Linked DNA regions of Homo sapiens: region 1 is linked to region 2. Evidence: promoter capture Hi-C in 16 types of primary human blood cells and fetal thymus (Javierre and others, 2016). All regions are on one chromosome and are shown on one strand. Each heading gives the region's core, a stretch centred on a gene start or on the middle of the fragment in contact. The rest is flanking DNA. Distances are from core to core; before and after follow the strand shown. Region 1 overlaps PKD1L3 (polycystin 1 like 3, transient receptor potential channel interacting). Region 2 holds the start of TAT (tyrosine aminotransferase).

Evidence for each region. The method cuts DNA at HindIII sites, captures the fragments that hold promoters and counts their contacts. A CHiCAGO score of 5 or more calls a contact.
Region 1: a fragment that was not itself captured here is called in contact with the fragment with the promoter of TAT in region 2 in 2 of 17 cell types (total CD8 T cells and naive CD8 T cells); the score reaches 5.8 in total CD8 T cells.

The regions. Positions count from the first base shown.
Region 1 is chr16:71,981,575-71,986,627 of GRCh38, forward strand. It overlaps PKD1L3 (polycystin 1 like 3, transient receptor potential channel interacting), which reads right to left. Exons shown (of 30, transcript NM_181536.2): 5 at 4,647-4,895; 6 at 2,462-2,593; 7 at 485-661. Among named protein-coding and RNA genes, the nearest start is that of PKD1L3, 16 kb to the right of the region's middle. The HindIII fragment of the contact is 222 bases long and covers 2,519-2,740 here.
Region 2 is chr16:71,575,842-71,580,321 of GRCh38, forward strand. It overlaps TAT (tyrosine aminotransferase), which reads right to left and starts at 1,251. Exons shown (of 12, transcript NM_000353.3): 1 at 1,168-1,251; 2 at 340-586; 3 at 81-185. The coding sequence starts at 574. The HindIII fragment of the contact is 5,727 bases long and covers 847-4,480 here.

The DNA.
Region 1 (5,053 bases), core at 1,380-3,879, 410 kb after region 2:
TCTGTTGTCTGGGCTGTGTGCAGTGGCATGATCTCGATTCACTGCAACCTCTGCCTCCCAGGTTCAAGCGATTCTCCTGCCTCAGCCTCCTGAGTAGCTGGGATTACAGGCATGTACCACAATGCCTGGCTCATTTTTGTATTTTTAGTAGAGATGCAGTTTCGCCATGTGGGCCAGGCTGGTCTCGAACTCCTGACCTCAGGTGATCTGCCTGCCTTGGCCTCCCAAAGTGCTGGGATTACAGGTGTGAGCCACCGGGTCCAGCCCCTAAGTCCTTTTCACTTGATTACAGCACTAGGGAGTCTTGGCTCACTGGTGGGGTGGGGAGGGAGACCTTGGAGAAGGCATGGCAGAGGAGTTTCTTCTGCAGCAGAAACTTCAGCAAGATTATCTTTAAAGGTCTGGGGAGAGGCTGTGATACCTGGACCTGTCAAGATTAAAATGCTTCTAAGCAGATCTGGCCACCTGCATATCTGGCACCTACCGGCTCAGTATGACGCTTGGATTCCAGCCAACTTCCTTCTCCAGCTTTGGTGACATTGTTGAGGGAATGAAAGGGGCAGACAGTTGGAGGAACTTTGAAGCCCAGACTGTTGTTGTTCTGAAATGGGATCCTGAGTAACTCCTCACTCAGGTAAATAAGGGAATTGATGAGATTAACCTGGGAGGATTAGAAAGCAAACATACACCCTTGAATTGTTTGCTTTTTTTTTTTTTTTTTTTTTTTGGTGACAGAGTTTCACTCTTGTTGCCCAGGCTAGAGTGCAATGGCGTGATATCGACTCACTGCAACCTCTGCCTCCCGGGTTCAAGCAATTCTCCTGCCTCAGCCTCCTGAGTAGCTAGGACTACAGGCATGAGCCACCATGCTCAACTAATTTTGTATTTTTAGCAGAGATGGAGTTTCTCCATGTTGGTCAGGCTGGTCTCCAACTCCTGACCTCAGGTGATCTTCCTACCCTGGCCTCCCAAAGTGCTGGGATTACAGGTGTGAGCCACCACGCCCAGCCTATGATTGCTTTTTAAAATTTTACTTTTAAGAGATGGGGTCTTGCTCTGTTGCCCCGTCTGGAGTGCAGTGGTACAATCATGCCTCACTGCAGCCTCGAACTTCTGGACTCAAGCAATCCTCCTTCCTCAGCCTCCCCAGTAGCTAGGACACAGGTGGGTACCACCACACCTAATTTTTAAAAATTTTTTGTAGAGGCAGGGGCTCACTGTATTGCCCAGGCTGGTCTCAAACACCTGGCCCCAAGAGATCCTCCTGTCTTGGCCTCCCAAAGTGTTTAGATTACAGACATGAGCCACACACCTAGCACATGATTATTTTCAATTTGCATACTTCTTATTAGCAGCTTAATATTCGTTATACATTTCAAATGCATTTTATAAAAAAAAAGTTACAATTTGACAGGGAAGGAGAATATATTATTTCATATAACCTATAAGGGAGGATTCATATTTCATGTTATTCTGACAAACTGACAATTCTTTTTGAGTGGTGAGTAGACCAAATATCCAATTAATACCATCAGACTAAAAAAAGGAATGAAGAAAAGACCAATGCTGAGTTTTTTGTCTTTTTAATTTCAGACAGAGTGTGGCTCTGTCACCCAGGCTGGAGTGCAGTGGCAGAGTCTTGGCTCACTGCAACCTCCACCTTCCGGGCTCAAACCATCCTCCCATCTCAGCCTCCCAAGTAGCTGCAACTACAGGTGAGCACCACCACACCCAGTTAAGTTTTGTATTTTTGATAGAGACAGGGTTTCACCATGTTGCCCAGGCTGGTCTCGAACTCCTGGGCTCAAGCTATCCGCCTGATTCAGCCTCCCAAAGTGCTGGGACTACAGGTGGGAGCCAATGTGTTCCACTGAATGCCGACAGACTTCTAACAAATGCATCAGCAAGGCAGTACCAGCTGATTAATCAACAAATGAACATAAACACAGTATATCCAACAATGTCACTACTGATCAATTTAATTCATAACTTTCCAGATTTAAAGGTAAAAAAATATGCTTGCTAAAATTTAAATACAGTCTTTATAATGCTAAGCTTGGCATAAGGCACAATCTCCAGATTCTCTTTCTTTTTTTTTTTTTTTTTTTTTTGGAGACACAGTCTCTCAGCCACCCAGGCTGGAGTGGAGTGGCGGGATCTTGGCTCATTGCCTCTGCCTCCTGGGTTCAAGTGATTATTGTGCCTCAGCCTTCCAAGTAGCTGAGATTACAGGTGCCCGCCACCGAGCCCAGCTAATTTTTGTTTTTTCAGTAGAGACGGGTTTTGCCATGTTGCCCAGTCAGGTCTTGAACTCCTGGCCTCATGTGATCCGCCCGCCTCGGCCTTCTAAAGTGCTGGGATTACAGGCGTGAGCCACCGCACCCAGCCTCAGATTCTCTTTTTCTGTTTTCCGCTTTTCCCTCTCTCCTACCTTCTTCCCTCCCAGTCACCCTCCACTTACCTGAGCTGGCTTAGAAAATCTTGGGGTTAAGGCTGTTAGTTTCTGGAGGAACTCACAAGCTTCCTGTAGTTTGTTAAGAGCTTGCAAACCATGAACTGCTCTGCTGAAGTTCCCTGCTATCTCATCTATGACCTATTGGGAACAAAGAAGTTGTCAAAATTACTCATACAAAATTACTGTACTGTAGTAGTCAGGGAGATTATTTTCATCCAAGTTGACCTTGGGTAACTTTATAAACCCTATGAACCACAGCTCTCTAAAACAGTGATTACTTTCAGAAGCTTTTCTGCGAGTGGACAGAATTTATTTCTACTTCTTCCATACGATAGAGAAAATGAATAACGAGATTATATAATGATTGCTCCAAGGGCAAATGAGTCTGGAAATAAGATTTATAGCAGTAACTTTAAGTGTTAAGGCCATGAAGATGAGGGAAACTTGGAAATTAAAAAGCCAAAACCAAACTTTTCTATTCAGAAGTATGTTTTCCTCTCAGGCTTCCCTGTGTGTGTGTTTCCCTCCATTCAAGTATTCGTATTTAAGGCTGGGCGTGATGGCTCACGCCTGTCATCCCAGCACTTGGGAGGCTAAGGCAGGCAGATCACTTGAGGTCAGGAGTTCAAGAGCAACCTGGCCTACATAGCAAAACCCTGTCTCTACTAAAAATACAAAAATTAACCAGGCTTGGTGGTGTACACCTGTAGTCCCAGCTACTCGGGAGGCTGAGGCAGGAGAATCTCTTGAACCCGGGAGGCAGAGGTTGCAGTGAGCCGAGATTGCGCCACTGCACTCCAGCCTGGGCGACAGATCGAGAATCTGTCTCAAAAAAAGAGTCCATATTCAAGAGGTAATGACTTAAAATGACTCATAGCAAGAGGTGGGAAGCAGAAAACCTCCCTGCCCTAAGAAACAGACTGAGCAAATGGCCGCGGTCCCAAAGCTTAAGTGGCTACTGCACTTGAACTCAAAGTCCAACCCTGAGACAATCACCATTAATGCCAACTACATGGTCCATTTCTGGAGAATACCTCACTCACAGCCTAATTCAACCACATATTCAAGAAATCTTGATTAAATGCTGACATTGCTAAATCCTCTTAATATTTCTAATAATTTATTATAGATCCTTTTAGATATTCTGTACTTCAGGATTTCCAAGAAAAACAAAAACAAAAACAAAAATCTTTGTTTAAACTCCTGTAGGTCAGTTTCTCCCCCAAATAGAACACTGAATTTCCATTACCATTGCAAGCAGATCCAGAGTGAACAGGATTGTTTTAGCAGGGAAATGTTCAACTGCATATAAACAGGGCTCGTTTGAGTTTAGGGAAAAAAAAGCATGAGGGAAGCAGGATTATTTTCTTCAGTCAATACTGTCAAAGGGACTTTGCCTTTTTTTGAGAGAGAGTTTTGTTCTGTTGCCCAGCCTACAGTATACAGTGGCACAATCATGGCTCACTGCAGTCTGGACCTCCCAGGCTCAAGCAACCCTCCCACCTCAGCCCCTGCCCCGCCACCCCCAAGTAGCTGGGACTACAGGCACATGCCACCACACCTGGCTAATTTTTTTTTGAAGTTTAATAGAGAAAAGGTCTCATAAAGTTGCCTAAGCTGGTCTCAAACTCGGGCTTACGTGATCCTCCACCTCGGCCTCCCAAAGTGCTGGAATTACAGGCGTGAGCCACTGTGCCTGGCTAATTTTTTTGAACTTTAGTAGAGAAAGGTCTTGCTACGTTGCCCAGTCTGGTCTAAAACTCCTGGGCTCAAGTGATCCTCTCACCTTGGCCTCCCAAATGCTGGGATTATAGGCGTGACTCAGTGAGCCTGGCTGCCTTGTCCATGTTTTTGGGAGGAAGGAAACAAGGCGGAGAGAGGGGACAGTGAGTAGGAGGAATTGTCTAGAGGTTTGCTGCTGCTGAAAAAGCAGGGTAGGTGAACAGAACTTCTTCCCCATCTGAAGCATTAAATAGAATAGCATTAAATAGTGTCATTAATGAAACGTTGGGCTGTATATGTGCTGTCAAATTGGCTGTTTCCATGGACTTGTTTAGTTTTTGTTTTGGATTGGCATATACGCTGGTCTGTCAGGCATTCTTAGGTGTAGTTCTGCAGGGAGGCAAATGGGTGAACCAAGTACTTTTTGGGGGTCACAAAGCTACCTGTGACTTGAATTTCCCATGTTTACCTGACCAGATGCCTTCTGCAATGACACTTGTAGATAAGAGGTGAAGGTATTCGGATGACCTTCTTCCTTTGGGCTTGAAGTTGTTTCTGCCAGAGATTGCCCAGCATGCGTGACAGACACGGGCATGGTGAGCTGTGTTATCACAGGGAGAGGCTGGCTGCTGGGTTCAGATGCGGCTGATGTTACCTGTGATGTGATACTTGATAGTACTGAAGGAAACTGGCTGATGGGATGACACAGGGTCTTGGACTAAAAGATAAAAATATGTAAAGGAAAAGACTGAATCTGATTTTACCATTTTATAATTAAGGCAGCATTTCCCCAAATACTCTGAAACTCTGTCCTATGAGATACTAATAGGCATTTCTGTTAAAAAAAATTCTGTGCTCAAACAGAATTTTGAAATT
Region 2 (4,480 bases), core at 1-2,500:
GATTGCTAGACATTTAGTCCTGTTATAAGAGCACTAAAGATTTGGCAGTCACCAGGTATGGAGTCTCAGGAGGAGCTTACCGATGGATGGGGCATAGCCATTATATTTGCCCGAGTCCAGGGCATCTTTCATTGCCTGGGTAACTTCAGGGTCTGTAGGCAGGTTTCCAAACACAGTAGGGTCCCCTTTTTATGGGAGGAAAACACAAAAGGAGCCAAGAGGTTATTCTCCCATGTTCAGTACTCAGACTCACCCCCAACTGCCATCTTCTCCAACCAGCCTGTGAACATGAGAGTAGAGGAGGACAATGACAGCCCCTCAGTAGTGTCCCCAACTCACCAATGGACAGGGAAATCATGGTTTTGTTTGGATTTGGTTTCACCTTCATGTTGTCCACAATGGCTCGGATGGGGTTGAAAGTTTTCTTGGCCATGTCTGAGGGCCTCACAGACCACCTGGCCTTTCTGCCTTTCATTTTTCCCGGCACAGAGCTTCTCCCACCAACGTTGACATGCACGTCCAGAATTGAGGGGAGGTTGCCTTTGCTGCTCATCTGAATCATGTATGGGTCCATCACTAGCGAAGCCTGCGAGGGGAAAGAAGTTCCCTGTGATGTTGATAACATAGCGCTGGGGGACAGAGGAGCTACATTTGGACCTAAACATTGGGTGACTTCACTAAAAGTGTCTTTCCAAACTCTCTCTTTATTTTTTTTTCTACTTTCTGTTGTAAAGTAGCTTTACTATGAATGGGGGAGTTTTAAGAGTTTTTACTGAGATGGAAAATAAAGCAAGAACCCATTCTACTTAAGTAGGATTTGCTACACGCATCTGCAATTCCTGTCAAAGCTTAACCATGCTCTATGTGAAACCAAGAAGGAATAAGATGAAAATTGTTCATCAGTCAAAGCATAGGTTCTCCTTCCTTTCCATGCGAGCCTATCCAAGAAAATCTACCTAATGCTTCTTGTCATCTGCAGAGGACCAGGAAGAACCACTCCATCTTGTTAGAAGTTCCATGTAAATATCATTGTTAGTAAAAGTAAAACCTTATCCCATAAGCATGTTACAGCCCTAGCTGGAAAAAGAAATCAATACACCAAAAAGAAAAAAATTAACAGCTCAATCAGTCACCACTGCCTGATCAGCTTGGGCTTGAGATTTTTACCTTCCAAGTAAAGGAGAAAGCAGCCTCCAAGAAGCCAACCCCGAAAGCTCCCTTAGCTCTTCTTTGACAGGTTACAGGGGCAATGAACTCAGATGCAAATCCTAACTCCTGAAATAGTCTCCACAAATGGGCGTTGGGCTTGAAACTTTCATGCCATTGGTTGGAATGACAACTCAGCAGCCAGCTCTCCCCTCAGCTTCTTTCCTCCTCTCCCCCGTCATTGCCTCTCATCCCTAAGCCCACCTCCCACCCTCAAAGCAGGAATTTGTCCTCACTTCAAACATCTGGAATTCTCCTGTGTTAACTCTTTCTGGGCACTTGGTGAGATGGTTTGAGAACATCTACTGTCAGAAAGTACTTCTGGTTACAGTTGATAGCTTTTATTAAATTTTTTTTACAAAACAGCCTGTTAAAATTTTAACAGTACAGAAATATATAAAGTAAGAAGTGAGCATTCTTCCTTGCACCTGCTCCCTGTACACTTCATTCTCACTCCCAGGGGTAGAGGGTGGTAATGGTCAGGCTCTTTCCCTCCATTCAGAGATAGATACATTACATATAGGTGCATAGATACATAATTTCATAGATTTCAAAACACAGATAGGATCGTGCTCTACACCTTGTTTGGCAACATTTTTTTTTTAACTTCCTACATCTTGGACGCCCATCCTTGTCAGTCCACAAAGTTTTGCTCCAATCAGAACAAATTGGGCACTTAAGTTCCATTCAACAAATAGCTGAAAAGCACAGGGTGTCCAAGGCAGCTGAAACCTGTGCAGTTTTATCCTTGCACTGTGCATGAATTCTTCATTTACCTCCTATGGTTGTTGGAAGAATTTAAAATGTCAGGTGCGATCCACACAAAACAACTTTGCTAAGCAAAACACAAGGTCCACAGCCAAAATCTCAACATTCCTGTGAGCAGATGGAAAATACCACCCACTGAAGGGTTAAGAGAAGCCTCAGTGATCTCCCCAGGGCTCAGATCCTGTCTGTTTATTTGTTGGAAGACAAAGATTTTTCACATCAGTTTGTTCTTCTCCATTCACTTTTCAGGGAGTCAAGCCTCCAGTGGGGTTGAATACAGTAGTCCCCCCTTATCCACAGGGAGCACACTCCAAGACCTCCAGTGGATGCCTGAAATTATGGATGTCTGAAACCATGGGTAGTACTGAGCCCTAGGTACACTATGTTTTTTCTTATACAGTAATGGCAGGTAACGTCTATAGCATGGATACACTAGAAAAAATTATTCACGTCTTGGGCCAAGGGCATCCTTGTCATAAATGTTAGTTTACATATTTGATTATTTCCTTAAGACAGATTTCTATACAAGGACTGTGTTGCAAAGAATAAGCATTTCTCTTTTACATTTTTAGTAAATATGATATATCCTTATATAATAAATTCAAATAGAGATGTACGTGAATTAAACCCTGATCACCTTCCCTCCCTGCATTCTCATTTTATATAAAAAAATCATTTTTAGTCATTTCTTGTGTACCCTTCCAAATGTTTTCTATGTTTATTACAATACGTATAAAGCTGGTTTGGGAGTTGCTAAAAAAATGGAGAGTAAACGTGGTCTATAGTTGCACTGTCTAATATTGTAGCTACTAGTCATAAGTGGCCGTTGAATACTTGAAATGTGACTGGTCTGAATTAAGATGTGTTGTAAAATACACATCAGGTTTTGAAGACTTAGTATAAAAAAAGAATGTTAATATCTCATATAATTTTGTATGATTACATGTTTAAAGAATATTTTGGGGCTGGGCATGGTGGCTCACACCTTTGGTAATCCCAGCCTTTCGGGAGGCCAAGGTGGATGGATCACTTGAGCTAAGGAATTCAAGACCAGCTTGGGCAACATAGTGAAACCCCGTCTATACAAAAAGATACAAAAACTAGCCAGGCATGGTGGCATGAGCCTATAGTCCCAGCTACTTGGGAGGCTGAGGTAGGAAGATCACCTGAACCCAGGAGGTCAAGGCTGCAGAGAGCTGTGATCATGCCATTGCACTCCAGCCTGGGTGACAGAATGAGACCTTGCCTCAGAAAAAAAAAAAAAAAAAAATATATATATATATATATATATGTATATATATATATAAAATGTATTTTATTTTACTCAGTACACCGTATATATATAATAAAATATATAATAAAATATATGATAATAAAATACATGGTGTGCTGAGTAAAATAAAATACATTCTTAAAATTAATTTCACCTATTTGTTTTTATATCTTAAAATATTTCTATTAGGAAATTTGAAGTCACTATGTGGCTTGCATTCTGTCTATTGGACAGGGCTGTTCTGTAGCTTGCTTTTTTTAAAATCTTAATAATGTGTGGGCTGGGCGTGGCAGCTCATGCCTGTAACCCCAGCACTTTGGAGGCCAAGGCAGGCAGATCATCTGAGATCAGGAGTTCAAGACCAACCTGGCCAACATGGCAAAACCCCATCTCTACTAAAAATACAACAATTAGCCAGGCACAGTGGTGCACACCTGTAATCCCAGCAACTCAGGAGGCTGAGGCAGGAGAATCGCTTGAACCCAGGAGGTGGAGGTTGTGGTGAGCCGAGATCGTGCCACTGCACTCCAGTCTGGGCGACAGAGTGAGACTCCGTCTCAAAAAATAAAAAATAAAAATAAATAGCCTGGTGTGGTGGCTCACGCCTATAATCCCAGCACTTTGGGGTTGCTGAGGCAGGCGGATCACGAGGTCAGGAGATGGAGACCATCCTGGCTAACACCGTGAAACCCCATCTCCGCTAAAAATACAAAAGTTAGCCCAGCCTGGTGGCGGGTGCCTGTAGTCCCAGCTACTCGGGAGGCTGAGGGAGGAGAATGGCATGAATCCGGGAGGTGGAGCTTGCAGTGAACTGAGGTCGCGCCACTGCACTCCAGCCTGGGCGACAGAGCCAGACTCTGTCTCAATAAATAAATAAATAAAATAAAAAATAAAGCATATCGAATGTCCTTGTACATTCATGATTGATAGAGAACTTTTATGCATATCCTGTTATTTGAGGGATAGTTTCAATTACGGACTATACAAAGACGAAAGCAATGCAAATATGTTTAATTTGAACAACCTCTTGGAGTTCAGACTACCTGTCATGACAATATACTGTGCTTGAGAGATGACACAGGTACCTCACTGAGTGTTACTGTAGTGGTTCTCCAGGTGGACAGAGACTCAGAGGTGTTAAAAAAAATTATTCAATAACACTTGTTAAAGCATGGTAAGGCAGACTTTATTCAGGACCATTCCAATAGCTAGACGGCCCACTGCAATGGATTT